Regions from separate parts of the Homo sapiens genome. Here region 2 is linked to region 1. Evidence: promoter capture Hi-C in human tissues and cell types (Jung and others, 2019). All regions are on one chromosome and are shown on one strand. Each heading gives the region's core, a stretch centred on a gene start or on the middle of the fragment in contact. The rest is flanking DNA. Distances are from core to core; before and after follow the strand shown.

Region 1 (3,407 bases), core at 346-2,845:
TCTTACTACAGCAATAGCAATTTAATCTTTTTGTTTTGTATTTTTTTTACTAAAACTTTCATTTAAAACAGTTATTAAATATATAAAACAAATACACAGGATTTGGTCATTTTCTGCCATGAATCTAGGGCACGTGGGTGCGGGGAAGGAGTCGGGCAGGGGGATGCAATAGAGGGGAAAGGGCCCCATTTCCCTCCTCTCCGTCTTCGGAGCTGCGATCCCACCCTCAGTCCAAGGGCTTAAACATCTGCTTTTCGGAACTGGAAGCGCAGCACAAACCTTGCTTTTCAAAGGCGCTGGGGTCTCTCGGCGGCCCCATCTCGGGAAGAGGAACTAACGATAACTACAGCACGAAGCACACCGGCCGAGTCTCCGGCGGGAAAGGCACCCGCGCGCGCGGACACAGGACGGACACAGGGAGGAGCGGAGCGGGTCACTTGGTCGCCACCCCCGAAGTGACGGCCGCGGCGGCGGCGGCAGCGGCGGCGGCGGCGGCGGCTGCGGTGGTCCCTGCGGGCACTGCGGCGGGGGTGGCTGCGGTGGTGCTGGCGGTGGTCCGGCGCTGTTCCATGCCGTTGGGCAGGAAGCCGGCGATGATGGGCACCGGCCAGATGAGGGCGGCCACGCTCCACACCACGATGACCAGGGTCATGAAGCAGGCCACCAGCGTGGACTCAATGGGCTTACGGTTCAGCCGCCAGCCCGGCTCGCCCTGCAGCTCCTCCAGGCTGAAGTCTAGGCAGCAGAAATGCAGCGGCTCGCCCTGCAGCCACAGCGGCCCGGGCGGCTCGGCCGCGGGGTAGGCTGGCAGCGCGGTGGGCGCCCCGGCGGTGGCGGCGGCGGCGCTGGGGGCGGCGGCGGGCCGGAGGCGGCCGGTGCGGCGACCGCGCACCCAGCCGCAGCCCACGCAGAGGCGCAGGTCCTGCTGCGCGCCGCCCGCCGCCAGCCCCAGGTGCTCGATGAGCAGCGGCGGCCCGACGCGGTGGAAGGCGGCGGCGAAGAAAGCGCGGCCGTGCGCGTTGGTGGAGAAGAGCAGTAGGTCGCACTGGAAGCCCCGCGGGCGGCCCCAGCGCACGAGCAGCGAGCTCAGCATCTGCCGCTGCACGCTGATGTTGCACGGCGCCGCCGCCGCCGCCGCCTCCTCCGGGCCCGGGCGCTCGGGGGGCCCGGGGGCCGCCGAGGCCAGCAGCCGCGGGGCGATGGGCTCGTCCGCGGAGGACGCGTTGACTGAAGCATTGGAGGGCACCCCGAGGAGGCCGGGCGCGTCCGCGGCCCCGCCGCGGACGGGCGGCAGCGGGCAGGCGGCGGCCAGGAGCGCGGCGAGCAGGGGCAGCATGGCCTGCGGCGGGCGCCTACGCGCGCGAGGCCGGCGGCGGTTGCATGGCGAGCGGGCGACGGGCCGGCGAGCTCACGGTGGGACCGCGGGAGCCGGCGGCCGGGCGCAGTGCGGGCGCGCCGGGCGCCTGCCAAGCCCGCAGGGGCGGCGCGGAGGCGGTGACGGCGGCTGGCTCGGCGCGGGGATCCCTCCAGACCCGGTTGCGTTTGGGGTTCCCCGCCGCCCCCGGCGCCGGGGCCCTTGGGCTGCCGCGCTGCTCTGCGGGGCCGGGTGCTATCCCAGAGCAGGATTCCCCGGCTCGGCTCCGCCTCCCGCGTGCCCCGCCCCGCCCCGCCCTCCGCTCGCCAGGCTCGGGGACTCAGGGGAGGGCGGGGTTCCACGCGCCGGGGCTGGGAGAGGAATCGCCGGGGCGGGGCTGGGTGCGGGGGCGCGGCGGAGAGCGGATCGCCCGGGGTGCGTGCGGGCGGGCGGGGAAGCCTGCGGACGCGCCCGGGCGCCCCCGCGCTCCGGGTGAATCGCGTTCTCAGAGGGAGGCTCCAGGGCCCGGAGACCATCCTTTTGTCAGGCCTGAGGGGAGCTTCGCTGTCTCGCCTTAGTGCTACCGAACCTCCTTTGTTTTACAGAAGGGGAAACTGAGGTCGAGAGAGGGGAAAGGGCCTCGCTAGGCCAACTCATGAGCCAGAAACAAGTCCGCGCCACTAGCTCTTTCTGCCTTTTTACGGTGTCTCTTACCTCAAATCTGTAGAGTTTGGCTGCTTTTTAATGGCTCCAACACAGCAGACTCACTTGGGATTCTCCTCGCAGCAAGCGAGGAAAATTCCAAGAACTCTGTGGAGTTTCGAGTGGAGAGTGACTGGCTGGGGGGAATGTGAGCCCTGAAGCTGTGCCGCCTGGGGGTCCCGAGGACACAGGTCCTGACAGGTCGAGTGAGCGCGTGTTCATGAAACAGTTGTAGGTTAGAACCCACGTCAAAGGGGCAGTTCATCCCCTTTGGGATATTATACGGGAGGAGGGCTACCAAGAATAACGTGTCAAGAGATCAGATTTATCACATTTATATTGAAAAGCACTTTCTTAGTAGTTCGGCCCCTCACACTTGGAAACAAACTTCAACGACCCTTCATCATTCCCATCGTTCTTTAGGGGACATTTATGTTGAATTATTATCTATTTTATTTTAGTTGGAAGCCCTTGTACTCCATGAGCACCAAGTATTCCTGATTCGGAGAGGGGAGGGGTGGAGGGAGCAGAGAAAGGCCTCAACAAAACCGCCTTCCTTCTAAACCAGCTAATCCTGAGAGGTCTGCCAAGAGTCCAGCTACATTGCTAGGCATCCTGGCTGATTACTTTTCTGGAAGCTTTTGTCCATTGTTTTCTAACAATGAGTAAAATGGGACTGAGAAAGTTGCAAAAACGCCTCAAAATAAAGCTCCCCAACTTATTCCACCTCTTGCCATCTAAGCAAGCCATTATTCTGACTTAGCCTTGGTTTCCCCATCTGAGTTGGGGGGTGGGTGGTACCTCCTCACAGGGCTGCTGTGATAATACTCCCAACCCAGTGTCTATCTGTCCCCAGATGTTCCCACATGGTGGTTGCTGTGATGTGGTTACTAACAGTGCTGCCCAAGTTGGCTGCCTAGAGTGGTCCTTGGTTTCTACAGAAATGGTTCATTTCCCCAAGGGGATGGGACTCCCTTTTCGTTTCAGCCTCCATCACTTTTGTGCTTGGAAGTGGTGCTACCAGGGAGAACAATGTGAATTTTCCTGCTTTTAATAAAAATGACTTCTCCTTTCAACCTTTGCATATCAGGAACAGAAGCTGCTCAGTGATGTGGCAGAACAGTTTTAATTTAAGCCATGTGTCTGGTGAACCCTGAAGAACAGGAATATCAAGTGATCCTGAGGGCTGAGGGAGGCCTAATCTTCAAGGGGTGCGTTTTGAGCCAGGCTGTTGCCTGTGACTGCAGATGACATTCTCTGGGGTTTCAGTCAGAGGCAGAGGCTTCCTGAGCTTTCCTGAGACACTCCTGGCTTTGTCTGTGCAGGGGGGAAGGCAGCAGCAAAGGGAAAA
Region 2 (3,301 bases), core at 300-2,799, 320 kb after region 1:
CCAAATTGCTGGGATTACAGACATGAGCCACCACACCCAACCCAGAATTTTTTTTTTTTATTTTTTTATTTTTTTTTTTGGTGAGACAGAGTCTCTCTCACTCTGTTGTCCAGGCTGGAGTGCAGTGGCACAATCTTGGCTCACTACAACCTCCACTTACAGCAATTCTCCTGCCTCAGCCTCCCAAGTAGCTGAGATTACAGGCATGTGCTACCATGCCCAGCTAATTTTTGTATTTTTAGTAGAGATGGAGTTTCACCATGTTGGCCAGGCTGGTTTCAAACTCCTGACCTCAAGTGATCTGCCCACCTCAGCCTCCCAAAGTGCTGGGATTACAGGCAGGAGCCACCGCACCCAGCCCCAGCCCAGAAATTTATTTAATTTGAGTAATGTTTATGAGAAATAAATAGCTCATGCATCCCTGAGAACTTGTCCTCAGCCCGGTTGAGAAATGCTAACTTAAGAAAAAGAGAGGGCTTTAGTCTATGAAAATATCTATCTTAAATTACCACTGCAGAAAAGAAATTGAGTTTTGATCGTTGGTAAAAATAATTTTAGATAATCATTGAAATGCAAACCTAAAATGAAAAGCATGTGTAAGACTCCCTGCAGGTACACCCAGCTTGAGAACCCAGGCTGGGTCAGCACCGTGCCAGCAGCAAGGACTTCTGTGAAGGCCTGGGTTCTCGCTCCATGTGATCTCACTTTGTGTCCTGGCCAGAAACAGGCTGCAAGCGCAGTTCGATGTCATTCAGTTCAATTGTGCCCATGTTCTTTGTGCCTGTGACATGCTGGGCTCTGCCCACACCAGGGATACAGAGACAAGAGCTACCGCCTTGTCACCTTGGAACAAAGGTCTGGGGGCACATGAGCTGTCACACACAGTTTATGTAAGGGCTCGGAAGTCAGGCCATCCTGGGTATAAGTCTCAGTTTTACAACATATTTAACACCTCTAAGCCTCAGTTTCCTGAGTTATAAAATGGAGGCACACACAGTGCCTGCCTTATCCGGCTATTGAGAGAATTAGGTAGGATAATGCCAGGAAGTGCTTAGCCTGCTTCTGGATGCACTAATGACAAAATCCTCTTAATACAGAGTGAGCGCCGACCCAGGGCCACGCTCTGCCCTAGAACTTCCCAGGTGTGAGCTTATTTACTAAGCACAGTGGCCCTGTGAGGCAGGCTTGTTGTTATCCCCATTCACAGACAGGCAGATGTGTGACTAACCCTATCTTACAGGCAAGGAAATGGTGGCAGGATGGAGCTAAATAACTCACTGAAGGTCACACAGCTAGTCCAGAATCTACTCTGAATGGTGACTGCTGCTAGCATCAGCGTTGCCACTTCTGGCAGTTGGAGAATCAGAAAATACGTTATGAGGAAAAGGACAGGCAGCTTTGGCTTTGAAAGAGGAGCAGCCTCTCCCCAGTGGAGAGAAGGGTGTCGCAATACCAGGAACAAACATAGGGGGGCAGGCCCACAGAGACCCGGGCTGAGCCAGGGAGGTACTGGAGCAGAGGGCATAGGGCAGTGCTGGAGACAAAGCTAAAGGTAGGGAGTGTCCCCTCCTCAGAGGCCAGACACCCCTCAGAGGACAGGGGGCTACCAGGGTGTGTGAGCAGGAGAGAGAGGGGCTGTGTCAGGTCATCCCGTCTCTTCCACTGCCTGGGGTGGAGCCTAGGTGGACAAGTGACTTCACTTCATGTGCCTCAGCTTCCCTATCTGTAAAATGGGATGGGATATTCATGCATCGACTCACAGGTTCATACAAGTGAATTGCATAGTTCAATGCTTGGCACAGAGTGAGAGCTCAGCAAATGGAAGCTTGTACTGTTATTAGCCATCGCAAGGCTACCCTCATGATGGGGACAGGTGATGGATTCGAGTGGGAGGAACACCTGTGGCCTGGGCCCTGTCCGGCAGGTGTCAGAAAAGTCCAGGAGAGTCATGCTTAGGCCTTCTCCAAAGATGGAGGTGCAAGAGCCCCACAGCATAGCAGCCTCTTTTTGAAGTGATGTCAATGTGCTTCTTCCTCTTTGGGCCCTTGAAGCTCAGGCTCAGTGTTGAGTCCCAACCTGACTTCTCTGCCCATCTCATTGGCGCTTTATGCCAGAGACAGGGGGAGCATGATTGGCACCTACTCACCCTGAAGGGACTGCCTTGGTAAGGCAACTCAGGGGAGGCCTGGGGAGCCAGAACCGTGTGAGGGTGCCCGAGGCAGCAAGGGAAAGACTCAGAGCACGATGGCCACATTCAGAGATCACATGCCCTGCCCCCAAAGCCCCAGCTGTGGACAAGAATGACTCAGGTCCCTTGGACAGGCTGTCACCAGTGATGACTTAGGACCAGCCTGCCCGGCTCCAGCAAAGCACAGGAAGCTCGAAGGTTTAGAAATGGGTCATTGTTGTGCTGAGGCCATGCGTCAAAGAGGACATCCCACAGCCAGCTCCTATCCTGGCCAGCACTCTTGACAAAGGCAGAGGGAGTGCAGCTTAGTGAGCTGGTCCCTTTACACAGGTTATTCACTCCAGAATCTGGAGAATTCTGTCCTTAAGGAAAAAAAAAAAAAAAACTAAGCTCAAGATCCCACAGCTTGTAAGACCAGGCCTAAGAGTCAAACCTGAATCTCCCCACATGAGAGCACCATGCTCCCCCTCACCCAGCACCCCCTCTGTAGGTGGTGGCCCAGAGGAGATGTTGCCCTGGGCTGCTCTTCCATAGGAGGAAAGACATGATTCACTAATAACTGCATGTCCTGAGAATTCCCTGTTGGGGACCCCAGGACTTCACTAGGGGCATGGCTCTTGGGTGACAGTTGGGAGGTCTCTTCCAGGGTCTCAGTCCAGCCAAGCATGTGGCCTTGCAAGAAGGCAGCTTCTAATGGCTCAGAAACACCAGGGCAGGGGGGCCACAGTCCTTCACACCACACACTTAGTTCCCCAGCTTCAGAACGCTTTAAAACGCTGCAGCATGGAGCCTCACGCTTTCAAAACAGTATTTCATAATATGCCAGGACTTTGTGTTTTATTCGTCCTCTCCCTGTGACCTAGGCTAATGCAGACAATAAAAATGCCACCAAGTTCTGCAAAACTGAAAAAATGAAGTGGGTGATTAGGGGACATTTGATAATGTGCTTTGGTTGAAACTTGAGAAATTATTCCTAGTAACTTTTCCTAAGACTGTGACTATATTTTCCAAGTGAAAAATAAGAGCTAGTGAAAGTAATGTGTGTGTAGATTTCGGAGCAATGGGATTGAGGATTTGGAAGCATGACTTCAGAAACTGAGCCACGTGGTCACC

The links. The method cuts DNA at HindIII sites, captures the fragments that hold promoters and counts their contacts. A contact is called where the count stands out against the background at its distance.
Region 2: a fragment that was not itself captured here is called in contact with the fragment with the promoter of TMEM158 in region 1 in 3 of the 25 tissues and cell types used here (H1 embryonic stem cells, hippocampus and lymphoblastoid cells).

The regions. Positions count from the first base shown.
Region 1 is chr3:45,224,692-45,228,098 of GRCh38, forward strand. TMEM158 (transmembrane protein 158) reads right to left here and starts at 1,596. Exons shown (of 1, transcript NM_015444.3): 1 at 1-1,596. The coding sequence starts at 1,336. The coding sequence ends at 434. RefSeq lists silencers at 1,423-1,492, 1,503-1,842. The HindIII fragment of the contact is 8,880 bases long and covers 1-3,407 here.
Region 2 is chr3:45,543,404-45,546,704 of GRCh38, forward strand. The region is part of intron 21 of LARS2 (leucyl-tRNA synthetase 2, mitochondrial); the gene reads left to right. Among named protein-coding and RNA genes, the nearest start is that of LARS2-AS1, 36 kb to the left of the region's middle. RefSeq lists silencers at 578-804, 1,597-1,807 and an enhancer at 2,194-2,488. The HindIII fragment of the contact is 7,069 bases long and covers 1-3,301 here.